Regions from separate parts of the Homo sapiens genome. Here regions 1, 2, 3, 4 and 6 are each linked to region 5. The links are contacts of gene promoters, found by promoter capture Hi-C in blood cells and fetal thymus (Javierre and others, 2016). All regions are on one chromosome and are shown on one strand. The core of a region is centred on a gene start or on the middle of the fragment in contact, and the rest is flanking DNA. Distances in the headings are between cores, read along the strand shown.

Evidence for each region. Contacts are between HindIII fragments. The CHiCAGO score rates a contact against its expected background, and 5 or more counts as called.
Region 1: a fragment that was not itself captured here is called in contact with the fragment with the promoter of PRM2 in region 5 in 4 of 17 cell types (activated CD4 T cells, naive CD8 T cells, total CD4 T cells and 1 more); the score reaches 6.7 in activated CD4 T cells.
Region 2: a fragment that was not itself captured here is called in contact with the fragment with the promoter of PRM2 in region 5 in 14 of 17 cell types (activated CD4 T cells, naive CD8 T cells, megakaryocytes and 11 more); the score reaches 14.1 in activated CD4 T cells.
Region 3: a fragment that was not itself captured here is called in contact with the fragment with the promoter of PRM2 in region 5 in 16 of 17 cell types (activated CD4 T cells, naive CD8 T cells, naive CD4 T cells and 13 more); the score reaches 20.0 in activated CD4 T cells.
Region 4: a fragment that was not itself captured here is called in contact with the fragment with the promoter of PRM2 in region 5 in 4 of 17 cell types (activated CD4 T cells, naive CD4 T cells, megakaryocytes and 1 more); the score reaches 7.7 in activated CD4 T cells.
Region 6: a fragment that was not itself captured here is called in contact with the fragment with the promoter of PRM2 in region 5 in 1 of 17 cell types (activated CD4 T cells); the score reaches 5.3 in activated CD4 T cells.

What each region holds. Positions count from the first base shown.
Region 1 is chr16:11,714,170-11,718,494 of GRCh38, reverse strand. All of the region lies in intron 5 of TXNDC11 (thioredoxin domain containing 11), which reads left to right. Among named protein-coding and RNA genes, the nearest start is that of TXNDC11, 27 kb to the left of the region's middle. The HindIII fragment of the contact is 4,629 bases long and covers 1-3,810 here.
Region 2 is chr16:10,949,852-10,954,440 of GRCh38, reverse strand. All of the region lies in intron 1 of CLEC16A (C-type lectin domain containing 16A), which reads right to left. Among named protein-coding and RNA genes, the nearest start is that of CLEC16A, 7.6 kb to the right of the region's middle. RefSeq lists an enhancer at 394-463. The HindIII fragment of the contact is 1,038 bases long and covers 2,778-3,815 here.
Region 3 is chr16:10,983,306-10,987,382 of GRCh38, reverse strand. The region is part of intron 10 of CLEC16A (C-type lectin domain containing 16A); the gene reads right to left. Among named protein-coding and RNA genes, the nearest start is that of CLEC16A, 41 kb to the right of the region's middle. The HindIII fragment of the contact is 1,125 bases long and covers 1,961-3,085 here.
Region 4 is chr16:11,686,921-11,691,097 of GRCh38, reverse strand. TXNDC11 (thioredoxin domain containing 11) reads left to right here. Exons shown (of 12, transcript NM_015914.7): 9 at 2,653-2,795; 10 at 3,132-3,241. Among named protein-coding and RNA genes, the nearest start is that of SNN, 21 kb to the right of the region's middle. The HindIII fragment of the contact is 1,215 bases long and covers 1,073-2,287 here.
Region 5 is chr16:11,274,587-11,278,662 of GRCh38, reverse strand. It overlaps PRM2 (protamine 2), which reads left to right and starts at 2,183. Exons shown (of 2, transcript NM_002762.4): 1 at 2,183-2,563; 2 at 2,726-3,024. The coding sequence starts at 2,293. The coding sequence ends at 2,763. The region is part of intron 1 of LOC105371082 (a long non-coding RNA gene); the gene reads right to left. The HindIII fragment of the contact is 881 bases long and covers 1,886-2,766 here.
Region 6 is chr16:11,734,972-11,739,531 of GRCh38, reverse strand. TXNDC11 (thioredoxin domain containing 11) reads left to right here. Exons shown (of 12, transcript NM_015914.7): 2 at 3,299-3,515. Among named protein-coding and RNA genes, the nearest start is that of TXNDC11, 5.6 kb to the left of the region's middle. The HindIII fragment of the contact is 386 bases long and covers 2,839-3,224 here.

The DNA.
Region 1 (4,325 bases), core at 247-2,746, 440 kb before region 5:
AAAAAGATACAGTTTCAAATTAAATTCTAGGTCAATGTCATGTTTAGATTGTATGTACAGATCAAGGCTGGAGAAACATTTGACACATATAACATTTAGTTATAGAGAACTGAACTGAAGAAGTGTTTAGACTGTTGTAGTAGAAAGCAGATGCCTTGGTTCAGCTGGCTACCAGCATTTATACAATACACATGCCTTTCCCCTGCCTTAATGATTTTTTTTTAAATTGTCTTAGAAATAGCCAGGCCACTTCAAAGTTCTACATTTGTTTTTTGAAGCTAGCTGGTCATCAGTGCATAAATAATTTGCGAGAGTACCATGTCTGAAGCATCACAGGGCTGTAGGGTGTGCTGTGAGGAGAGCTTATTCCTGGCCCCCAGCATGCGAGGCTTGGGTTATAAGATCGGGTTCTGTGGTCCTTTACCCCCCACTTAACGCAACTTGTCAAACATTTGCTATTTTTACACATTAAAAGAAAGGAAATTCACTTACCACCTCAGCACTCTAATAGTAACTGCCTTCTCTTGTTGTTTTAACTGTTTCCTTTTTTCTCCAGGGCTCGGCCTCAGTGCTGATCTGTCAGTTTACCTTGGTCCACCTGTTAAGGTGTTGTGGACAGGAACTCTTGTGCATATTTCTGTCCATTATTGTATTAGCCTTTCTTTTTTTTTTTTGAGACAGAGTCTCTCTCTGTCGTTCAGGCTGGAGTGCAGTGGCGAAATCTCTGCTCACTGCAACCTCTGCCTCCGAGGTTCAGGTGATTCTCCTGCCTCAGCCTCCCGAGTAGCTGGGATTACAGGCGCCTGCCACCACGCCCAGCTTATTTTTTGTATTTTTAGTAGAGACGGGGTTTCACCATGTTGGCCAGGCTGTTCTTGAACTCCTGACCTCATGATCCGCCCGCTTCGGCCTCCCAAAGTGCTGGGATTACAGGCGTGAGCCACTGCGCCCAGCCTGTGTTAGCCTTTTTTACTTCTGTTATTATTATTTATGTAGTGCTTTCGTATTTTCTTTAAAAAAAAGTTAAATCTCTGGTTCTTTTTTTTTTTTTTTTTTTTTTCATTTGGAGTCTCGCTCTTTTGCCCAGGCTGGAGTGCAGTGGCATGATCTCAGCTCACTGCAACCTCCGCCCAGGTTCAAGGGATTCTCATGCCTCAGCCTCCTAAGTAGCTAGGACTACAGGCGCCCACTACTGCGCCCACTACCACGCCCGCCTAATTTTTGTACCGTTAGTACAGACAGCTTTTTGCCATGTTGGCCAGGCTGGTCTCAAACTCCTGACCTCAAGTGATCCACCTGCCTCGGCCTCCTAAAGTGCTGGGATTACAGGCATAAGCCACTGCGCCTGGCCTTCTGGTTAGTTTTTCTTGCTTTTTTTTTTTTTTTCCTGAAAATCTGATGACTATATTAGTTTATTTTCTTCTTTTTTAAATTTAAAAATTATTTAGCACTTTATGCTCCCTGGCTTTACTTTGGCTTAAAATATAGAGCACAGTTGATTTTTCCCTCTCTCATTTATAAAATGATGTTTCCTTTCTTTCTAATCTTGATGATGCCTGCTTTAACTACAGAACATATTTTTCCATGGATTTGGGTCTATTTCTGTGATTTCTTTTGGTCTGGATACCTATTTTTGTCTGAGTAAACATAATCTAAGTTCTTACTTTGTAAATTGTTATTACTTGGTCAAGTCTGGACTTCTTGTAGTTCTTGTGTTTTGTGGAATATTCTTTTATGTCCATCCGTGCCTTTGGCTGGAATTTTGTTGAAATTATGTTAAATATATAAATTGACTTGAAGATAATTGACATGTTCATAACATTTAGCTTTCCTTTCTAGGTGCACAGCATGATTATTCATTTATTCAAAACTTCCTTTTAATTTTTTATAGTAGGTCTTACATATCTCTCATTAATGTTTAATCATTTCACAGTGCTAGATGATTAATTGTGGGCTGGCAATCTTTGTATATGTTTCAAAAGCCTGGAGGAAATCAGCTCTCTTGTACTTTACTCCTCCAGGACTGCAAAGCCTGTTCCTCTTGTAACATTTTTACATTTGATCTTGGCAGAGAGGCTACTTTATTGCCAAAAGAAAATTTGGTAGAGGGGTCATATTCTGAAGTTGCTTGCTTGATTTTTAAAAATCTGATGATTATTTCATTATTTGCTGTAAAAATGTGTTCTGGTAACATTTTGTCATACTCTGCTATAATTCAGTGGCTTTTTTAAAAGAGAAGATTTGCAGCAAATTTTGACCCCATTTTTCATCTGATCTACAAAAGGACTTGCAGTGCAGTCTAGGGAGAAAAGCAGTGGGCTGGGAGGCAGCAATGCCTGGTCCTTACCCTTTGTCTGCTCCTGGTGAGGTCTGTAAACTTGGAACAAAATATTTAACCTTTCTGTGTTTGTGTTTGTTTATCTTTAAATTTGGGGAGGGTAGAGGTAAGTATATAAATCCTTATTTTATAAGGTCAAATCATGAAATACTTTGTGTGTGAGTAAAGTAATAAAGCGAGTAAAGAAATACTTTGCGTGCAAGTAAAATAATAGTCTTTATACCTTAATTAGAAACTAAGCCATCTGGTTGAAAGCACCTCAGATAAGTATTTTACCTATTCTAGTGAAAAAATCCACACAAGAAATGATGTCATTGACTGACCAGCAGGCCCAGTCTTTCTCTTCCCCTTTCCCGTGCACCTCCTACCTGCTTCTATTTGTAACGCATGGTTTTCTCCCTGTCCAATGGACTGAATCTCTCTGCCACCAGAATAGGAGCTAATTTTTCAGATAATATTTACTGAGGACCTTGATGGCAGGGTTTTGTTTTGTTGCTCCTACAGCTCCACACCGTGCTTGGTGAATGTATGACTGGTAAAGGACGCGTGAGAAAGATTTTAGCTACGGGATTTTAAATGTCACTTTGGATCCCCTCTCACTACCTTCTCCACTTCTTGTGCCTGGCCCTTCAGGCTCAATAGACCATAGTGTAGGAATTTCCCTGCCTGGTTCATTCTTTTTTTTTTTTTTTTTGCCGTGACAGGGTCTCACTTTGTTGCCCAGGCTGGAACGCAGTGGTAACCTTGAACTCATGGGCTCAAGCAATCAGATTCTGCCTCAGCCTTCTGAGTAGCTAGAACTACAGGTGTGCACCAACACACCAGCAAGTTACAACAATTTTTTTTTGTAGAGATCAAATTGAAATTCACATGGTACCTAAATACCATCTTGGAAATACACTAAACTATTTTTTTGTTTTGTTTTGTTTTGTTTTGTTTTTGAGACATCCGTTCTCTGCTCACTGCAACCTCCGCCTCCCGGGTTCAAGCAATTCTCCTGCCTCAGCTTCTCGAGTAGCTGGGACTACAGGCACACGCCACTAGGCCTGGCTGATTTTTGTGTATTTTAGTAGAGACGGGGTTTCACTGTGTTGCCCAGGCTGGTCTGGAACTCCTGAGCTCAGGCAATCCTCCCGCTTTGGCCTCCCAAAGTGCTGGGATTACAGGCGTGAGCCACCACGCCCGGCCACACTAAACTATTAACCAAAATATTGTTTCCACTCCCTTCTACCACCTTTGGGAATTCCTAAACTCAGTTGATGAGGAAACCTTGTAGCATTAGTAGCATTAGTTTTCTAAGGAACTCCCTTTGGGAAATAGTGTTTTAGAGGAAAGGTATTAAATGGAGGAAGAACTTTGATTCCAGCGTAGTGTCCCTGTACTCCACCAGGTGGCGTCTGATGCTGCCGAGATTTGCTTGTAGAACTGAGTCGGTACGCATAAAAAGTGCCCTCCTCCAAGCGAAGAAAGCTTTTCTGGAGTATTGTTCTGTCAGATTGGAAATTTTTTTTTTTTTTGAGACGGAGTCTTGCTTTGTCGCCCAGGCTGGAGTGCAGCCGCGCGATCTCGGCTCACTGCAACCTCCGCCTCCCGGGTTCACGCCATTTTCCTGCCTCAGCTTCCCGAGTAGCTGGGACTACAGGCGCCCGCCACCACGCCCGGCTAATGTTTTGTATTTTTTAGTAGAGACGGGGTTTCACCGTTTTCGCCAGCATCGTCTTGATCCCCGACCTCGTGATCCGCCCACCTCGGCCTCCCAAAGTGCTGGAGTTACAGGCGTGAGCCAACGAGCGCGGCCAGATGGTGAGATTTTATACAGCATCAAAAGATCTTGGCGGGGCACGGTGGCTCACGCCTGTAATCCTAGCACTTTGCGAGACTGAGGCAGGTGGATCTCTTGAGCTCAGGAGTTTGAGACCAACCTTTCGCAATGTGGCGAAACCCCGTCTCTACAAAAAATACTAAAAATTAGCCTGTAGTTGCAGCT
Region 2 (4,589 bases), core at 2,047-4,546, 330 kb after region 5:
TAAATAATTTCTGGGGGAAAAAGACCTAGTAACTACCAGAAGGCCCTTATAGGCAGAGAGGGCAGGGCGGTAAGTCCTGAAAAAAAGATTCTAGGAGCCCCCACGTGCCTGGTTCTCTGCGAGGGCTTCATGTGACCTACAGACTCACAGTAACCTGAAGATGTGCACACTGTTGCCACTGCACAGGACAAGACAGCAAGTGAGGTTTGGCGACGTTCAGTAGCTCGCCCACAGACCTGTGGCCAGGAAGAAAGGTCTGAGAACTCCATTTGTTTCTTGGCCTCTCAATACTTGGTGTTCTTTGCCCTGGTCGGTGGCGCCATCTGCTGGGTATGCAGTGATATTGCGTGGGGGCTTTCTTCCAGTAGTGAAACCGGGTGCCTGTTCATATATGTTTATGGACTGTTTGAATATCTTCTTTTGTGAGGTGCCTGTGCAAGTCTTTTGCCCATTTTTTTTTTTTTGAGACGGAGTCTTGCTCTGTCGCCCAGGCTGGAGTGCAGTGGTGCGATCTCCACTCACTGCAAGCTCTGCCTCCTGGGTTCACGCCATTTCCCTGCCTCAGCCTTCCGAATAGCTGGGACTACAGGCGCCCGCCAGCACGCTCGGCTAATTGTTTTGTATTTTTAGTAGACATGGGGTTTCACTGTATTAGCCAGGATGGTCTCGATCTCCTGACCTCGTGATCCACGTACCTCAGCCTCCCAAAGTGTTTGGATTACAGGCGTGAGCCACCGCGCCTAGCCTGCCCATTTTTAAAATTAGGCTGTGTGGCTTTTTCTTGCTTTTCTTTATATACTCTGACCACAAACCCTTTACTGGAGATAAATATTGCAAATACTTTCTCTGATGGTGGCTTACCTTTTCGTTCCCTTTATACTGGGTCTTTAGATGAGTAGAGGTTCTTAATTTTAATGTAGTTCAATTTATTAATCTTTCCCTTGGATGGTGTTTCTTGTATCAAGCTTAAGAGGTTCTTACCTACCCCAAGGTTATAAGGAAATGCTTTTTACTTCTAACAAAGTTACTGTTTTACTCTTCGCATTCTGACTTTGAGTACATCTGGAACTGATTTCTGTGTAGGATATGAGGTACTGGCCAAAATTAAGTTTTTCTATATGGAAATCTACTTGACCCAGCACCATTTACAGAAAAGGCCCTCACTTCTCTACTGCACTCCAGCGCCACCATTGTCATTAATCAGGTGACTACCCATGTGGGTCTCATTCTGGATACTCCAGTTTCATTGATCTATTTGTCTATCCTTGTATCAAGACCATACTGTCTGATTACTGCAGTTTTACAGTAAATCTTGCCATATAGTAATTAAGTCTTCCAACTTCTTTCCTTCTGTTTTTCAATATTGCCTATTCTTGGCCCTTTTAATCTCCATATACATTCAAAAATCACCTTCTTCATTTCCACAAAAATACGTGCTAAAATTTTCTTAGACTTGCCCTACATCTATGGCTAAATTTGGAGAGAACTGACATATTTACAATAGTGTAACATTCTGATATTTACAGCATTTGTTTCCATGCTCACTTGACAGGAATCTTGCAGATCTATTGTTAGAGTTGCTGCTAGGTAGTCGACATTTTTTTATGCTATTGTAAATGATATTGTTTCAAATATTCATTTTCTAAATGTCTTTTGCTGGTATACAGAAATACTCAGTAGACTGCAAGCTCCAAAGCTCAATGAGGGTTACACCTTCACCTTGCTCGTCTTTCTGTCCCACAATGCCCTGGCACACCGTTTTACACAGTGTTTTAGGAAGAGATGCTCAATATACATTTGCTTGAATGTAATGGGGGGAAAGGCTGAATGGATTAAGATTTAATGTTTTAATGGTGTATCTAATTCCAGGGCTTTGGAAGATTAGGTAATTCAACCACCTCAGAGATATAAACATTTTAATAACTTTTTGTTGTTGTTGTCATTTTCTGAGATGGAGTCTTGCTCTGTCATCAGGCTGGAGTGCAGTGGCGTGATCTTGGCTCACTGCGGCCTCCGCCTCTTAGGTTCAGGCGATTCTCCTACCTCAGATTCCCAGGTAGCTGAGTTTATAGGCGCAGGCCACCATGCCCAGCTAATTTTTGTACTTTTAGTAGAGATGGGGTTTAGCCATGTTGGCCAGGCTGGTCTTGAACTCCAGACCTCAACTGATCTGCCTGCCTCGGCTTCCCAAAGTGCTGGGATTACAGGTGTGAGCCAACTCACCCGGCCCATTTTAATAAAACCTTCTGATTATAAATGTAACATTCACTTTAGAGAAGTAGGAAACTTTGACAACAATGAAAGAGAAACGGCAACCGTGGTGCCTAGAGATGACTGCTGCTGGAGTTGCAATCTATTTCCTCGGGTCTTTTTCTTTGCTATGGATATTTACATAGTTGAGGTCATGTTGCATTATCCATTTCAGTGCCAATCTTATTTCCCACCTCAGCTAAAACAAAAGCACTTTTTTTGGTTATTGACAACTGTTTGCAAATATCTGTAATGGCTACACAGTATGACACTGAAAGGACAAGCACAGTAGCAACTCTTTTGAAGGGCATTAAGATTCCTAATTGTGTGAGTGATAACAATGTTGCTATGACCATCTTTGTATGGAAAGCTGTGTCTTTATCTCAGAAAAGTTTCAAAGGACAGAATAATTACCTTGCTACTTAACGGCAGCAAATTAAAATGTTTCTCTTACAATGATAACCACTGTTAGAATGACAACGTGTTTTCTCAAACTATGTATGTACCTCAGTAAAACAGATGAAGCTTCCTATTACTGCCAGTCTCTGTCTGAGTGCTTCGTTTAATCCCAGAAACAATCGACCCTTTGGGGATGATGCTCTGGGAGCTGAGGCATCTGCCCAGGGCCCTGGTGCAGCACAGGAGGTGCCTAGGTTACAACCAGGCAGACTGAACTCCAGACCCCATGATTACAACCCTTCTAGGACTACAGAAATGCAAACAATGAAGTAAGCAACAATTTTATTGGCCAAGAATTTACATGAGGTTATGAATGCCTAACACACAAAAAATAAATTAAAAAAACACCAAATAGATAAACCAAAAAGGCATGAAAATACTATCAGATCTTATGGAAAGTCCTTATAAAAGGCTCTAACTCCCATTTGTCTGGAAAAGAGCCAGTATTCTCATATCCCCAGCAGGAGCTCTGCAGATGCAGTCTCAATATCCGAGCTTTGCCTGTTAGCTAACTCTCCACCGACAGATGAGCTTCAGAGTTTGAAATGCCTGGAGAAGAGAAACTGTAACCAACACACTCGAGGTGCATCACCAAGGATGACAGACGTAAACAAATCTGGCCTCAATAGCCTCTGCTTTCTCAAGAGTCACTAATTTCACAGGTTAAACCACTACAGTTAATAATGCCCCATATCCTTCAAAAATTAGCAATTCAGTCCATTTCAGAGACAGGAATACTAGGTCCAAGTTCATTTCAGTGACAGCATTTTCTGCACGTGCTATGCCTTGCACCATAATGAGCTTATTAGGATGCTCCTCCTTCAAGATTTTGAAATGTACATTTGCAAGGTGGGGCATGAGAAAGGATAAGCAGAATGATAGGAGGTCTGGGGGTTAGAAATTTACCCCCCAATGTCCACACAGCTCCAAATAACAATGTCTCAGGTGTGGTAGAGGGATGGGAGACACAGAGCCTGTATCTGTCTGGCCTGTTCAGCACTCGGGCAGAGGCCCTGCAGACGTTCCCCAGTGTGTCCCACTCTGTGCCCTGAAAACCACCATCTGGTCAGTGTTCAGCCTTCTGGCCAGCAGGACAAGGAGAAGCTTCACGGAGGGTGGAATCAGGCTAGAGGATTAGAGAAGGTGTTCACAGGCTGTGCTTCCCCTGGTGAATCATCCCCCAAAGATGTCAAACAGGGCCGGCAAGTGAGGCTGGGCCGGGGATGTGTAGGGTATAGGCAGGGCTATACCCTAGCTTTCTTTAGGGCTTTAGCCCTAGAGAAAGTCATGGCTGTGGCACAGGTGCTGTGACTAAACTGGGGAGAACAAGCAGTTGTTGGGAAAAGACTGGCCTTTTCTGAAAACAGAGGTCTGCCTCTCGTTCATCCTGTGACAAATATTTGTTGATTGCTTACTATCTGCCACGTCCTGTGCTGGCATACCAGTACCCAGCTGAACAAGCCATACAGGCTTTCATGATTCTTATGTTCAAATTGGGAGAAAACAACAAAAAAGATATGTAACAAAGGAAGACAATGTCTGATAGCCAAAGGACAGGAACCCCGGCCAGCTTCCTGAGGGTCTAACTCAAGGCCGAGATGAAACTTTAAGAACGCACAGGAGCTAACAGCCGACCCACTCTTTGGCGATGAGAAGTATATAATAATGTGTTAACTGTGTGGGACAGTGTGAACAGGCACAGAAGAAGTTAGAGAAGACAGCAAAACTCTTGTTGGCTGAAGTCACCAGGGCAATTTTTAGGGAAGAACTGGCATTTTCGGGATAGAGCTAGGGATTTGGATGGGCAGGAGGAAAAGAGCAGGGGACCTCAAGTGGGCAGGCGAGGTATGTGTGTGAGTGGACCACCAACAGGAGATACA
Region 3 (4,077 bases), core at 1,274-3,773, 290 kb after region 5:
CAGTGTCCTAAACTGAGAGGTTGCCAGTAACCCGCAGTTTGCTTTTGCTCAAACATAAATCCTATGTATCACTGTCAATATCCTGCTTGTGAGGGTGTACTAGAGTTTTGCAAGATGTTACCACTGGGGGAAACTGAGGAAGATCTCTCTGTATTATCTGTTACAACTGCACGCAAATCTATAATTATCTCAGTAAAAAATTTCAATTAAAAAAAAAACTGCATAAAAGCTGGGTGCAGTGGCTCACACCTGTAATCCCAGCACATTGGGAGGCTAAGACGGGCAGATCACTTGAGGCCAGAAGTTCAAGACCAGCCTGGCCAACATGGTAAAATCCCATCTCTACTAAAAATACAAACAAAATTAGCTGGGTGTGGTGGTGCATGCCTGTAGTCCCAGCTATTCGGAGGCTGAGGCACGAGAATCACTTGAACCCTGGAGACAGAGGTTGCAGTGAGCCGAGATCACGCTACTGTACTCCAGCCTGGGCGACAGAGCCAGACTCTGTCAAAAACAAAACAAAACAAAACACACCAAAAAAAAAATCAAAAAAACTAAAACTGCATAATGATGGATAAATGGATAAAGAAAGAAAAAGAAAATGTGGTATATTTCTTGGTACACACACACACACACACACACACACACACATTGAGCCTTAAAGAAATAAATTCTGATATATGCGACAACATGGATGAATCTCGAGGACATTACATTAAGTGAAATGAGCCAGTGACAAAGACAAATGCTGCACGATTCTACTTATACGAGGTATCTAAAATTGTCAAACTCATGCAGAGAGGAGAATGGTGATTGCTGGGGCTGGGGGGATGGAGAGTTGTTGTCCAGTGGGTATGAAGTATCAGTCATGCAGGTGACTCCACAGAGCAATGGATAGCACATTGTACTTCTGAAGTTTCAGTATGCAAGATAAATGAGATCTAGAAATCTGCTGAATGATGCTGTGCCTACACTCAACAATAATGTTAACCATACAAATAAAAATGTGTTAAAAGGGTAGATCTCATGTTGTGTTCTTATCACAACTCTAAAAATGCAGCAGGCCGGCTCATGCCTGTAATCTCAGCACTTTGGGAGGCTGAGGCGGGTGGATCACGAGGTCAGGAGATTGAGACCATCCTGGCTAACATAGTGAAACCCCGTCTCTACTAAAAATACAAAAAATGAGCCGGGTGTGGGGGCAGGCGCCTGTAGTCCCAGCTACTTGGGAGGCTGAGGCAGGAGAATGGCGTGAACCCGGGAGGCAGAGCTTGCAGTGAGCTGAGATCGTGCCGCTGTACTCCAGCCTGGGCGACAGAGCGAGACTCAGTCTCAAAAAAAAAAAAAAAAAAAAAAAAAAAAAAAAAAAATTCTGCAGGCCAGGTGCAGTGTCTCACACTTGTAATCCCAACACTTTGGGAGGCCAAGGCAGGCAGATCAGTTGAGCTCAGGAGTTCAAGAGCAGCCTGGCCAACATGGTGAAAGCCCATTTCTACTAAAAATACAAAAATTAGCTGGGCGTGGTGGCACATGCCTGTAATCCCAGCTACTTGGGAGGCTGACGCTTGAACCCAGAGGCAGAGGCTGCAGTGAGCCGAGATCACGCCACTGCACTCCAGCCTGGGCGACAGAGACTCCATCTCAAAATAAATAAATAAATAAAAATAAATAAACAATGCTGCAAACCCCAGAGCCCAGCAATCTCTGGTTTCATCTCTTAGAACGACAAGTCTAGCTTCAGCACTGCAGAGGGTATCTTACAGTAAGACAATCTGAGATGAAGCCACGGCAGCTATCCTCAGGCTTGGAAATCATGCAACTAAAAAAAAAAAAAAGTCCCGAGGGACCCAGTACATCTCCAGTTGCTATTAACATATTAACATCAATGTAGTCCCAGTTAGCAGTGGGCAGGTTTCACGGTAAACACGCCTCATCTGATGGGGGCAGGCTCTGCGAAGCTTCCCGTAGAAACGTGCATTGATGGGGACCAGATCTTCTGACTGTTGGAGAAGATTCCAAAAATCTGGACTTTTCTTCCTAAATTTTAATGTTGGCAATTCAGAAAATTTTCTTTTAAATACTGCAAAGACCAAACCAAATGAGTCTGGTGGCCAGTTTGCAACCCAGCAGGCACTTGATGGGCACTATATATATATATATATTTTTTTTTTTTTTTTTTTGAGATGGAGTCTTGCTCTGTCGCCCAGGCTGGAGTGCAGTGGCGCAATCTCAGCTCACTGCAAGCTCCGCCTCCTGGGTTCACGCCATTCTCCTGCCTCAGCCTCCCGAGTAGCTGAGACTGCAGGCGCCTGCCACCATGCCCGGCCAATTTTTTTTGTATTTTTAGTAGAGACGGGGTTTCACCGTGTTAGCCAGGATGGTCTCGATCTCCTGACCCGGTGATCTGCCCGCCTCGGCCTCCCAAAGTGCTGGGATTACAGGGGTGAGCCACCGTGCCCAGCGGGCACTTTATATTTTGCCCCCATCTCCATCAGCTCTCTAGAGCAGGGCTTGCGCTGCCTGTTTTCTAAATGGAGTGAAACAACCTGCCCGAGACCAGGTGGCTGGCAGGGCACTCTGCACCTCTAACTGGAGGCCCTGCTGATTCTGCTGACTCAGCCTTCCGTGACTTACATTCATTTAGCAAACGCTAGTTTAAGAAAGTTGCAGAGAAATATCTAGGGCCCCATAAACTCTGAGTCAGCTGTACATTTGCCAGACCGTGTGTTGTCATGAGATGGACCACTAGGAAAATCTTTAACACATCACCCCTGTCACCTCTAGGCCAAAGCCTCTCACCAAACACTTCTTCCCTTTAGAGCGCTTATAAGAGTTAAGACAGTGAGTTATTTGCATATCTGATCCATGTCCACCTCTCTACTGTACTGTAAAGCTCGAATACGGCACAGACTCTTTATGACATTGTGTATCCCCAGAACTAGCATGATACTTGGCCCAAAGAAAGAGCTCCATCAACACTGCTGAATGAATCAAGAAAGGGATAGGCCAGACAGGGGCCATGAAAAGGCCCCAATCAATTCACTAATGCCACCACCACTAACAAGGACAGAGTTTCTGGGAAGCTTTTCAGAGGCGCTAATGCTCCCCTGAATAACAAAATGACCTGGCCAGACCATCATACACCAAAACCAGTGGAAGGGCAGGGGCCTCTTGTAATTGTACTCCATGCAGTGGTGGCCTTTCATCCACAGGGTCACATTCCACCCATTCATGTAGGTGGGGCAGCAAATCTACTACCCCAGGGCGAGCTGGCCCTTTTACCAGCCTGGCCACTGCCTGAGCACCTGGCTGCAGAGAGGAAACCTTTATGAAACAGCCCTTGTATAAAACGCACTATGCTCATCTCACTTACCCACTCTAAGCTCCTTATGGCAGGGATCTCACCTGTCACTGAATCAGCTGCAGCCTGGGCTCCGCATAAGTGAGATGAGCATTTGTGCAGCCCAGACTGCAGCTGATTCAGTGACAGGTGAGATCCCTGCCATAAGGAGCTTAGAGTGGGTAAGACCTTTGAAAAGAGGGAACCAGGTGCATCAGGAACCAGGCTGTAGGTACGGTAAAGGCGCAGGTTCAAAGGCACAAATGCTGGACATGCTGGGGGAAAAGCAAGTCAGACCAGGATTAAGGCAGCTGGAGCTCAGGACATGTGAGCAGGATCTGAGAGATGACAGCAGAGATATACAGAGGACAAGATGGAAAAGCTTCAAGAGAAGTCACAACACTGGCCATCAGGTGTTTTCCCTCAGCAGTGTACCAAATGGAACGCCAAAGCTCCTTCCTGCAGACCACAAACATGCTACTTAGTCCAAAGCTTGATGATCATTTAAAACTAGAGATTACACGTAACAATGCGTTTTTCCCGCTTCTCTAGAAACATGAAAAAACCTAGTAATCCTACATCCATATTCCTGCAGAACAGCAGCAGCCTGGGGTAGAACAGGAGCTGCTCGCCAAGGTGGCATACACTCTCCAATTTGCCACACCCCTCGCCACTCTCTACTGCCCTCACCTGGGGCCTGAGTCATTCATGGATGTTCATCGCCCAACTTCTGTAGA
Region 4 (4,177 bases), core at 431-2,930, 410 kb before region 5:
TCCTCACTCTGAATTTTGGATAAGTTTGTCATTTAGCCCATGGTGGGGGTAAGAGTCCCACTTTCTAAATTGGCGATTTCTGTCACATGTCTAAGGTAGAACCAGCTGCAGGCAGTGGGGACTTGGGGACTAGAACAGGCAGGGAGGTGGAGAGCTATTCTGGTGGGATGTCCTAGGGGCTGATGAAAGTGAGCCTTGACAGCAGCTTTGTTCTAAAGGAGCTTAAAGAGAAAGCAGTGGCCGGGCGCAGTGGCTCACGCCTGTAATCCCAGCACTTTGGGAGGCCGAGGCGGGTGGATCACGAGGTCAGGAGATCGAGACTATCCTGGCTAATGTGGTGAAACCCCGTCTCTACTAAAAATACAAAAAAAAAAAAAATTAGCCGGGCGCGTTGGCGGGCGCCTGTAGTCCCAGCTACTCGGGAGGCTGAGGCAGGAGAATGTCGTGAACCTGGGAGGCAGAGCTTGCAGTGAGCAGAGATCGCGCCCCTGCACTCCAGCCTGGGCGACAGAGCAAGACTCCGTCTCCAAAAAAAGAGAGCAGTGAAGAAGGAAGTAGAGCCGCCTTGCCTCCCTTTTTGTCTCATAGGCTTAAATGTCTAAGGATCAAGGCCACCAGACCTAATTTGTTCTGCTGCTGTTTCATAATGTACTGAGTAATATTGCTGGGACCTGGGGTACCTACACTGTAACAAGTGTAAAGTGCAAATAAATAAGTGTCAGTCGCAAACCAGCAAAACCCACTTTTTGAGGAGTAAGGCTCCATGATGAGAAAGCACCCAGAGCTTGCCCCTGGGACTTGGCAGCAACATTGGGCTGACCCACCCTGGCCTGTTCCCAGGAATTTGCTGATGCCCTTGACTACACACAATGAAGTGAGAATTCAAAAGCCACGTTAGTTCAGCCTCATTGGAAACGGGAGGGAGGGTCAGTGTATGCCGAATGGAGAAAGGAGGAATTTGGTAGGGAAGGAAACCTTTCATTTCAAGTTTTAAAGTATGAACTCAACAGTAGACTCAGAGCTTCTACATATGAGTCTTTTTAGCCATCCTCTTTCAAATCTAGGTGAAGCTTGTTTCTTACATTAGACACATTTGTGAAAAGGCTTTATGTAAATATTGATTTTTCTATATCAAGTTACATATTATAAATCCAAGAGTTCCTCACTGTGTAAAAGAACCCTGTGACCAGTCACTTTTTGAAGGGCATAAATCTGTCGATATTATAGATTACTCCCAATTCATGTTATCTAAAGTCATTTTGATGTGTTGAGCTTTCTTAAAATGAAACAAGCATTTTTTTTTTAAATGGGAAAGAGACTCCAGAGAAATGGGGTCAGTGTTCCTACAAGCATGTATTTTTGAGGTAGTCTGTATTAGATTTTCCTGAATTCCATTCAGTAATGCTCAAGTGTTTAATGACCTCATAATGTGTTCACTTTGAATTTAAGGGTAATTGAAAGAAGCCTTCTTTAGATTTCTTTCCATCTTCTGTATCTTCTCTGAAATGTTTAGCCTAGCTGTTCTTTGTCCTGCAGTTAGTGACAGAATTCTTAGGGAGCTTGTAAAAAACACCTACTGTGTGTCATTGTTGGTTTAGAGACTTAACTCATAAATCAGCTGTCTCTAGGCTAGTTTCAGAATTTAGGCTTTATTCAGATTAGGAAATAATTCTTGGTTTCATGTTTCAAAAACATAGCCAACTAAGTGTTTCTCAGATGCTGATCATGAATTCTCTTTAGTATTCACATGACATTCTTCACTTCCTCTTCCATTCTGCACGCTGCATTGCCCATTGCACCTCAAAATGGAGGGAGTTAGAAGAAAGAAAAAGAACTGAAACTTTAGCTGAGTGCAATGGTGGACGCCTGTAGTCCCAGCTACTCTGGAGGCTGAGGTAGGAGGATCGCTTGAGCCCAGGAGTTTAAGGCTACAGTGAGCTATGATTGCAGCACTGTACTCCAGCCTGGGCAACAGAGTGAGACCCTGTCTCTTTAAAAAAAAAAAAAAAAGTGAAATTCAAATTAGTATTGTTTCAGATGAAGCAAAGGACTCTGAAGATGGCAGAATTTGTGGTAAAACTGTTGGTTCAAATCAGGTTTTTGATTATTATGGGTTTTATGTATTTTTCCACTACATATAATTTTTTCTTAACCTTTAAAAAAAGAAACTTAAAGAACCTTAATAAAGGAAACAAAAAACTGTAGCTCCTTGTCCTCAAATTAATGAGCATTTAAACACATTCCACACTACTGTAGCTTGTGCAGTTGTCACATTTGTGGTTAAGCTTAAAGGTCTTAGTATTATAGGGTGAAATTTCTTGAAAAGATGGTGGCTTGTTGATGATTTATACAGTCTCACTTGGTGTCTATTTGTGGACCAGTCCTTTTAAAAAAAGAATAGTCTATGAATATTAGAGCATCTAACATTGCATAGTGTTTTGTTATCCACATTACTGTCTGCTGAGTTAATACTACCAGAGCTAAACCTGATGCCACCCGGGCAGCTTTGTTTGGGGTTTTGCTGATAGGTGAAATGTTAAAAATGTGAGCCTATGAAGTCATTTGAGTTTTTAAAATGTGGAGTTTAAAAGTAGGCCAGCTATTCTCTTTGTATCTAGAGGAGAGTTGATCTCATTTTCTCTTTATTTTTAGAGTCTTTTATTCAAAACTTCAGCGTTCTCTATAGTCCCTTGAAAAGGCATCTCATTGGAAGTGGCTCTGCCCAGTTCCCGTCTCAGCATTTAATCACTGAAGTGACAACTGATACCTTTTGGGAAGTAGTCCTTCAAAAACAGGTATGGAGTCATGAGAGGCAAAAGTTAAGCCATCTGTCCCTCTTAAAATAATTTCCAAACTACAGTTGTTGGGGTGAGCAGCTGTTTTTGATGTATAGAAGAGTAACCACGTGATGGCCCAATTATGGACCGTGAATGAATTACATGTGGTTTTTAAATTTCAGAAAAGTGCTCCAGAAAGCACAGTATTGGAAAGACCTAAAGATGAAAATTTTCACTGTAATATTTGCATAGGTAGCATTTTTCGGGTGCTTGCTGGATTCTAAGCAATGAGGAAAGAAATGAAGAAGAGCCCATTTCCCGGTGCAAGTAACATCTGTCTTCCCTTTCCCACAGGACGTTCTCCTGCTCTATTACGCTCCGTGGTGCGGCTTCTGTCCATCCCTCAATCACATCTTCATCCAGCTAGCTCGGAACCTGCCCATGGACACATTCACTGTGGCAAGGTAAGCAGGCCTCTTCTGCAGCGCTTTGGGCTGTATGCCCATTTTCACTCTTATTTGCAGCTTAGCCATATGGTGTGTGAGGGTCTGCCCATTTTCCATTAACCTTTGGTAGGACTTGGCTGAATTTAATTGTCAGGTTGAAGCCATGAGCAAAGCCTCTTTGAAACTGAACTTTTCCTCATGAATTCTGAGTGTTCCTTCCATGATGTTGATGTTTAGCCCTGACTAGATTCGTAGGTGGCTGAGTGCAGTTCTGTGGGGAGAGCACTGACCTGGTTGCCAGGATGGCCCCGTGGAATACCATGGGACAGTTGCCCCAGGCAATGCCAGTGGGTCCTGGGATCCCAAGCAGATCTCTCCACCAGCCCTGGTTTATCTCATTTGTGAAATTAAAAGGAAAGACCAATAGATATCCACATTCTGGTATTGTGATTCCATGGGTACTGTATGTGCGCTTTTGAGTAAACAAAATTTTTAAAAATATTTTTTGGGAAAAGAAGGCTCAAATACAGAGTCTTTAGATGGGGTAGTAAGCAGTTTTGGGTGAGGAAAACTGTTCACATTTAACCCCCCACCTCCCCCAAAACCCTACAGATAGATAAGAGTTAAATATAAAAAAATCAAAACAAAAAATAGGATTTGCTGATTCCTCTGGGAGATGGAAACTTTCCAAAGTGGAAGCAGTTGGAAAAATAAAGAGAGAAAAATGGACAGATTCCACTAGAAATACGTGCAGTGAAAACAGGGAAAGCAGACAAAAAGGGGGACCATTAATATATTTTCCAGTGTCTCTGTGTCACCTGTTATATGCACTGTAAGTAATAATTAGAATCAAATCTGAGGAGTTACTATGTTGGGAGAGTTTTTGATATACATATTACCTGACTGAGTCCTTGCGACGCTTAGTGAAGGCACTCTAGTTAAAAAAAGAAAGTG
Region 5 (4,076 bases), core at 934-3,433:
TTTTGTAGACAGAGCCCTCACTATGTTGCCCAGGGTGGTCTCAAACTCCTGGGCTCAAGTGATCTTCCCACCTCGGCCTCTCAAAGTGCTGGGATTACAGGTGTGAGCCACCACACCCAGCCCCTTCCTATGTTTATTTTATTTTATTTTATTTTTTTAGACGAAGTTTCGCCCTTGTTGCCGAGGCTGGAGCGCAATGGTGCCATCTCAGCTCACTGCAACCTCTGCCTCCTGGGTTCAAGCAATTCTCCTGCCTCAGCCTCCTGAGTAGCTGGGATTACAGGCGCCCGCCACCACTCCCGGCTAATTTTTGTATATTTAGTAGAGACAGGGTTTCACCATGTTGACTAGGCTGGTCTTGAACTTCTGACCTCAGGTGATCCACCCGCCTCAGCCTCCCAAAGTGCTACGATTACAGGTGTGAGCCACCGAGCCCTGCCCCGCCCCTTCTTATTTTCATCTGCAAGCTTTGGCCATGGAGATTTGACTTAGCGGGACGTAGGGTAAGGCCTCAGCATTCATATTTTTAACACGCGCCCTCGAAGAGCTTGAGGGCCATCATAAAGGACCTTCTTATCCCTAAAGAGAGGCAGCATAGAAACACCAAGGGCATGGCAATATCACCCATCACCTCCTGTAAGGATCTGAAGATTAAGCCTCCTGAATTTGTTTCTTATTGCCACTGTGACAGATCATCACAAATTTTGTAGCTTTAAACAACATAAATGCATTATCTTACAGGTCTGCAGGTCAGAATTCTGAAAGAAGTCTCATGGGGCTAAAATCAAGGGGTCAGCAGGGCTGTGTTCCTCCTGGATGCACGAGGGGAGGATAACCCATTTCCTTGTCCATCCCAGCTTCTAGAGGCCGCCTGCATCCCTTGGCTTATAGCCTCTCCCTCCATCTTCAAAGCCAGCAGTGTGGTGTCTCCCAGTTTCTCTTCCTGTGACCCTCCTGCCTCCCTATTCTCTCTTCTAAGGACCCTCGTGACTGCACTGGGCCAACCCAGATCATCTGGGATGATCTCTGCATCTTCAAGTCCTTAAATTTGTGTATCTGCCACATTCCCACATTCTCCCTGCCCTCCATGAAAGGGAAACTGGTTTTGCAGTTTCTGTGATTCTGATCCCGGACTTTAATGGGATCATCAAAGTTCAATGAGAAGCCCCGGCAAGGCCGAGCGGGAGGGGAGAAGATGAATATTTTGGAGGCGGAGAGGGGAGCATTCCCTGGGCTAGGGAGGAGGTGGAGAGCCAAGGGTATGACTAAAACCAGGCTGTCTCCGTCTGAATGCTGGCCCGGCCTGGCCTTCTCAGCAGAGTGGCCTTGAGCAACTCAACTTCTTCATGCCTGTTTGCCCCACAGAAAATGAGGATTGTAAGAGTGAGGAATGCAAGGGTGGTGGCTCACACCTGTAATCCCAGCACTCTGGGAGGCCGACATGGGAGGCTCACTGAGGCCAGGAGTGTGAGACCAGCCAGGGCAACATGGTGAAACCCTATCTATCTCCACAAAAAATACAAAAAATTAGCTGGGAGTGGCAGCACACGCCTATAGTCCCAGCTACTCGGGAGGCTGAGGTGGCAGGATCATCTGAGCTGGAGGGGTAGAGGCTGCTATGATCCATGATTGCACAACTGCACTCCAGCCTGGGCGACAGACAGTGCCTCAAAACAAAAAGAGGAGAGAGAGAGAGAGAGAGAGAGAGAGAGAGAATGAGTGAATGTATGGGAAATAAATGAATCAATGCTTGGCACATAGGAGCTATTAGGGAACTGTTTGCTGCTGTTGCCATCTTAACAGTAAGCTGTGTGCACAGAGATCCAAGCACGGAAGTCCCTTCCACATGGTGGCTGTGGCACAGCAGTGAGTTGGCAAGGAAGCTTCCAAATGACAATGTGCGCACCCACCGGCTTGGGGAGATGAGGGCTTGGATTAGGCAATAAAACACCTGCCATCTGTATGGTTCACCTACTGCAAGAGACAGAGGACATGCTTTACAGGCAAGGCAAGGGGGTCTCTCGCCCTTCCAGCCCTGCAGCTTGGGTGCCAGGGCCCTGCTAGTTGTGACCCCTGGCCCTGTGCTGCCCTCACAGAGGAGGCTGGGCAGGGTGGGGACTGGGCGGGGCCGCAGAGTCATAGTGGGCGCCCCCTTTATATACAAGCTCCCGGGGAGCCTTGCAGACCAGACCAACAGTAACACCAAGGGCAGGTGGGCAGGCCTCCGCCCTCCTCCCCTACTCCAGGGCCCACTGCAGCCTCAGCCCAGGAGCCACCAGATCTCCCAACACCATGGTCCGATACCGCGTGAGGAGCCTGAGCGAACGCTCGCACGAGGTGTACAGGCAGCAGTTGCATGGGCAAGAGCAAGGACACCACGGCCAAGAGGAGCAAGGGCTGAGCCCGGAGCACGTCGAGGTCTACGAGAGGACCCATGGCCAGTCTCACTATAGGCGCAGACACTGCTCTCGAAGGAGGCTGCACCGGATCCACAGGCGGCAGCATCGCTCCTGCAGAAGGCGCAAAAGACGCTCCTGCAGGCACCGGAGGAGGCATCGCAGAGGTCTGCCTGCGCCCCCGCCTTGCCCTGCATGTCCCTGACCACCCCAGGCACAGGAGGGAGGCGGGGACCCACCCCACCTGACAAAAGCTCCAGCCCCCTAACCCCCGTCCCCACCCAGAGTCCCTAGGTGACCCCCTCAACCAGAACTTTCTTTCCCAAAAGGCTGCAGAACCAGGAAGAGAACATGCAGAAGGCACTAAGCTTCCTGGGCCCCTCACCCCCAGCTGGAAATTAAGAAAAAGTCGCCCGAAACACCAAGTGAGGCCATAGCAATTCCCCTACATCAAATGCTCAAGCCCCCAGCTGGAAGTTAAGAGAAAGTCACCTGCCCAAGAAACACCGAGTGAGGCCATAGCAACTCCCCTACATCAAATGCTCAAGCCCTGAGTTGCCGCCGAGAAGCCCACAAGATCTGAGTGAAACGAGCAAAAGTCACCTGCCCAATAAAGCTTGACAAGACACTCGCTGGCCTGTCGGGTTTTCTTTGCACGAATCACACAAACCTGGCTTCCCTCACGCCCAGGGCGGGTAGAGGCTTCTCTGCAGCCCTTCCTCAGAGGCAGGTAGGGCGGGAGTTCTGATGCTCTCAGGACACCTAGGAGAGGGTTACTGTGCCTGGGAGGCCACCCTATGATGCTGTCCTGTCTATTGTGCATCCTTCCATGGTGTCAAAGGCCACATTAGTCTGTCTGGATCCCCCTCCAGTGAAGAACCTGATCCTACCTCATGAAAGGAGAAAATGGTTAGAACAGATCGAGTCCTAATTAAGTCACAAAGATGCCAAGGCACCTTGTGGCCATATTTAAATGCCTACTGTGTGCCACAGTTTAAAAACACAACCCATCTTGAGTGTTGGGTGGTTGGAAGTGTAAACGGTGGGGGCAGAGGTGGGGGCACTGCTCAGTGCAGGCCACAGCTTCGAGGTGGGAAACAGGTCTGGCATGCTCCAGCAACAACTTGGTCAGCACAGAGACGGCAAAAGGCAAGGAGTAGATGAATGCAGAGTAATGGGCTGCGCTGTGTGAGGCCTGTGCTGGCTGAAGCCTCTGGAGACCCAGGCAGAATCCGATCCTTGTTGCCTGCTCTCCTCGGCCTGTGGCTGCATCACTCCTCCCTCCTGTCTGAAATCAAGGACCCTTGTGATTGCACTGAGGGACTTTCTGGACAACCCAAGATAACCTCCCCATCTCACAATCCTTACATCATAGATTCCAGGATCAGGAAGGGGGCACTTCGGAGAGTGCCAACCTTAGCCAACCATAGCCACTGAGGACTGGGGGGATAAGACTGGCAAGATCCAATCCATATGTTGGCAAATGGATTTCTGGTGCTCAGAAATGACCAATCTTTAGGAAGCAACGAGTTTCTGAAAACAAAACAACAACAACAAAAAAAAAAACAGACGGAGTTTCGCTCTTGTCACTGGGGCGGTGTGCAGTGGTGCGATCTTGGCTCACTGCAACCTGCACCTCCTATGTTCAACTGATTCTCCTCCCTAACCTCCTGAGTAGCT
Region 6 (4,560 bases), core at 1,782-4,281, 460 kb before region 5:
TTTTCTATGTTGCCCCGGCTGGAGTGCAGTGGCTATTCACAGGTGCAATTATGGCATGCTGCAGCCTCAAACTGCTGGGCTCAAGTAATTCTCCTGCCTTAGCCTCCTGAGTATAGTAGCTGGGACTATAGGCACATGCTACTGGCTCAGCAACAACAGGCCTTCTTATTTGCAACCAACTCGAGTTTTTTGTACCCGAGACATACCCCTCATAGCTGCAGGAAATCTTTGCTCTATGTATAGTTTCTCTAAAGCGTGAAGCAGATTGATGAGTTAAATAGAAACTCACCAGTGTTTCTGATGGAGTAGAGGCGAGCGTTTCTTCTCCCTGGCCAATATTTGATTTTTGATTGGCCTTGTACTTTATCTGGCTCATTTAGGAATGCTTCTGAATATGCAGAGCAAAATTACTGAGTTGCTCTTTATCCTTTCGTTGACTGTCAGACCTACATTTTTCCTCAGATTGCATTATTTGATGCTTACATTGCATTTTTTTTTTCTTTTGAGATGGAGTTTTGCTCTTTTTTCCCAGGCTGGAGTGCAATGGCGTGATCTTGGCTCACTGCAAACTCCGCCTCCCGTGTTCAAGCGATTCTCCTGCCTCAGCCTCCCAAGTGGCTGGGATTACAGGTGTGCACCACCATGCCCAGCTAATTTTGTATTTTTAGTAGAAATGGGGTTTCCCGGTGTTGGTCAGGCTGGTCTTAAACTCCTGACCTCATGTGATCCACCCGCCTCTGTCTCCCAAAGTGCTGGGATTACAGGCGTGAGCCACGACTCTTGGCCATGTGCAGTTTGAATGGTAGAAAAGTAATTTCTCCAAAGAGCAGAATTTTGGATCTCTTGAAAACGTGTCTTTTTTTTTTTTTTCCTGTAGTGCCCTCCCCACCTCTTAGGTGGCTATCTTCTTGTCATTCAGGTCTCAGAGCTTAAATTATAGCACCTCCCAAGCCACCACTCCATCAGAGGAGCTACCATGCCCTTCTGTACATCACCTTGTTAAATTTTTCACATAGTGAGCATTTAGTATATTTTTATTGTTTACACATTTGATGTTTTTCCTGTCTTCCTCCCCTAGAAAGTGGTCTCCTCGACAACACGCAGTGCTAGCTGCCGCAGCCTTAGTGCTTGTGCCCAAAGCACAGTCACAGCTGCTCAGTAAAGAATTTTTGAATAATTGTGTAAGTGATTTTTTCAGGTTATGAAGGCATTCTGCATAGACTGAAAGCTCTCTGATTGAAGGTTAAAATATTAGTTTGAGTGAATAAATAGGTGACTTGCTCCGTTGGATACTTCTGCCTGTTCTGGAATTTCATATAAATGCAGTCATAGTGCATGTACTCTTTAGCACTTTTTTCACTCAGCATAATCATTTTGAGACTCATCCAAGTTATAGTACATATGAATAGGTTTTGCTTTTCGTTTTTATTGTGGAGTAACATTTAAGTAAATGGGTAAGAATATACCCCAGTTTATCATTTTACCTCATGAGTCATGCCAGATTTCTTATGCTCACTATTTACATAGTTTTTCTTTTCCCATCCTTATGCCTTTATCCTGTGTCTTTATATTTAAGATATATCTCGTTTAGATAGTGCATAATTGGGTCTTGCTTTATCCTGTCTGGCAGTCTGCTCCTCCTAATTAGGTTGCTTCCTTTTTTTTTTTTTTTTTTTTTTTGAGAGACGTAGTCTCGCTCTGTTGCCGAGGCTGAGTGCAATGGCATGATCTTGGCTCACTGCAACCTACACAATTCTCCTGCCTCAGCCTCCCGAGTAGCTGAGACTACAGGTATGTGCCACCACGCCCGGCTAATTTTTTGTATTTTTTTCAGTAGAGATGGGGTTTCACCATGTTAGCTAGGATGGTCTTGATCTCCTGACCTCGTGGTCTGCCTGCCTCGGCTTCCCACAGTGCTGGAATTACAGGCATGAGCCACCGCGCCCGGCCTCTCCTTTTATATTTAACGTAATTGTTGAGGTAGTTGGGTTTAAGTCTACCTTCGTGCTCCTTGTTTTCCATTTGTACCGTCTGGCTTTTGTTCTTTTCTTGTTCCTTTACTTACTTTCTTTCTTTTTTTTTTTTTTAGATGGAGTTTTGTTCTAGTCACCTAGGCTGGAGTGCAATGGTGCAATCTCGGCTCACTGCAACCTCCGCCTCCCGGGTTCAAGCGATTCTTGTGTCTCAGCTTCCCGAGAAGCTGGGATTACAGGCGCCCATCACCACGCCCAGCTACTTTTTCATTTTCAGTAGAGACAGGGTTTCACCATGTTGGCCAGGCTGGTCTTGAACTCCTGACCTCAGGAGATTTGCCTGCCTCGGCCTCCCAAAGTGCTGGAATTACAGGCTGAGTCACCACGCCTGGTCTCCTTTACTTTCTTTGGGGTTAATCTCATCGCGTTTTAGGTTTCCATGTTTATGTTCTCTATTTATCTCGTTTAGATAGTGCATAATTGGGTCTCATTTGTTTCTTAGCAAAGCTGCCCTAATGGTTTGTGGTATGTGAGTGTAGATGCATGGACAGCTCAGGGTGTTTACTAGGGCCCTTCTACTTGGTGGGATGCAGCCTGGGCCTAGATCTTTAGGTCTTGATGGGGAAAGTTACTTCTGACCACTTGTTTGTTCAGCGTTCTTTTCTTTTTCCTCCTGATCTGTTTCTTGTGGGAAGCTCAAGTGTTCAAAAAGCCCATTTTCCAGTTAAATAGGCTGTTGCTTTGTTACTTATCTTCATTAGTCTTAGGATTATGATATATATCTGGAGGAATGTATATTATTGTTTAATTGTTACTGTTACCTGAATGCCCTGGATAAGTACAAGCCAACTCCAGCTAATAAGCTTAATGTTTTCTCAAAGTTGAGTTGATTGTAAGCATCTCCCGTGGAAATCTTGTTAATGGTAGTTTACATGCTCCCTCACCGTAATTCTGAGCTTGCATGCTGGTGGCTCTAAAGCCCTGGAGATAAGTGGCTTTTGTGGAGAGCCAGGCTGCAGAAAAAGGAGGATGAAGTCTTTGGGATGTGGGGAGCAGGAATATGGATTATTCAGAGACATCCTTCTCTGCTCTCCACTGCCCTTCCAGCCTACACCTAGGGGACAGAATCTCAGAGAATTGTTTCCAACGTATTATTCATGTCTTGCATTTGCTCAGCCAGATGTTGCCTTTCTAGGGCAGTGATTTTGGGACTCCATTTTCTTATTCAAAAGAGGATTTTCCTTTTAAGCTTCATTCTACTTCCACAGAGCTATTTTTAGAAGAAGATAAACTAAGCAATCTTTTCTGTGTTTGCTCTTTTTTAGTCGAGCAAAAGATGTGATAATACCAGCAAAGCCACCTGTCAGCTTTTTCTCCTTGAGGTCTCCAGTCCTTGACCTCTTCCAGGGGCAGCTGGATTATGCAGAGTACGTTCGACGGGATTCAGAGGTGGTACTGCTCTTCTTCTATGCCCCTTGGTGTGGACAGTCCATCGCTGCCAGGGCAGAAATTGAGCAAGCAGCAAGTCGGCTTTCAGATCAGGTAATGCTCACATTCAGCTTAAGAATCAAATGACTGTCAGTCCTATATGTAGGGCAGGATGTCCCCACAGAGACACCTTGCCCAACGGGCAGACTTTGCCAAGGTGAACTCCAGGAGTCGTTTCTAAGTTACAGAGCTTTCTATAAAGCAACAGAAAGGATTTCCAATTGTGGCGATTGTACTCCAAGGCAAGTGTGGGAGCAGATTCTGAATCTCATAACACAAGCCAATGCTTATCCTGGGGTGCCATACTGTTTGGTTTCAGCATTGAAAAAGGTAGAGGGACTGAAAATCCTAGTTCTTGCATATCCATTTGATACTTGCTAGTTAGGTATTTTAGGTAAGAAAATGTATGTATGATATGACTGCATTGTAACAAGGCCGACCTTTTTAATATATGGACCAGAACTATATTCAGCAGATAAGGAATGCCACCTTTGGGCTAGGTAAGAAAGATATATAGGCAAATAAGTCACCTGTTATGGCAGTGGTTTTCAGCCCAGTGGACCCCAGTTGTGCTTTAGAAAATAAGTATTTTATGATGTCCCTTTTTCTTCCTAAAAAGGAATTCATAGATGATAAAGTTTTCCTATACATGTAATTTCAAAATAATCTAATGCACGGATTGTAACATAGAGGTGAGGGGGGAAGAAAGTAATTTGTAACTAAATGATATATATTTTAGTATGTAAGTGCACAGTCAGAACAGGTCCATATACCTTTATGTAGAATCACTGAATGGGATAGTTACAAACGTAGACTGATAAAGGTGATATGTTGGTGACTTACCTGCCACATGGACATTGCTCTTAGTAATTGATTATCCTAAATGGTGAACAGTCTTGGTAAAATCCTGAACTATGCAAAGCCCTTTCTGCTCTCAGTTTACATAGAAGTTGCATTCCTGAAAAATTCAGTGAACACAAAAAGCATGCTTTAGATTCACATGTAAAATGGAGCTAGGTACTGGGCTTTGATAATAACAGGTTTTCCCCAACATCAGTGTTTGGCAGGCGTTTTGAACTCCTCTGGAATGCTATGGACG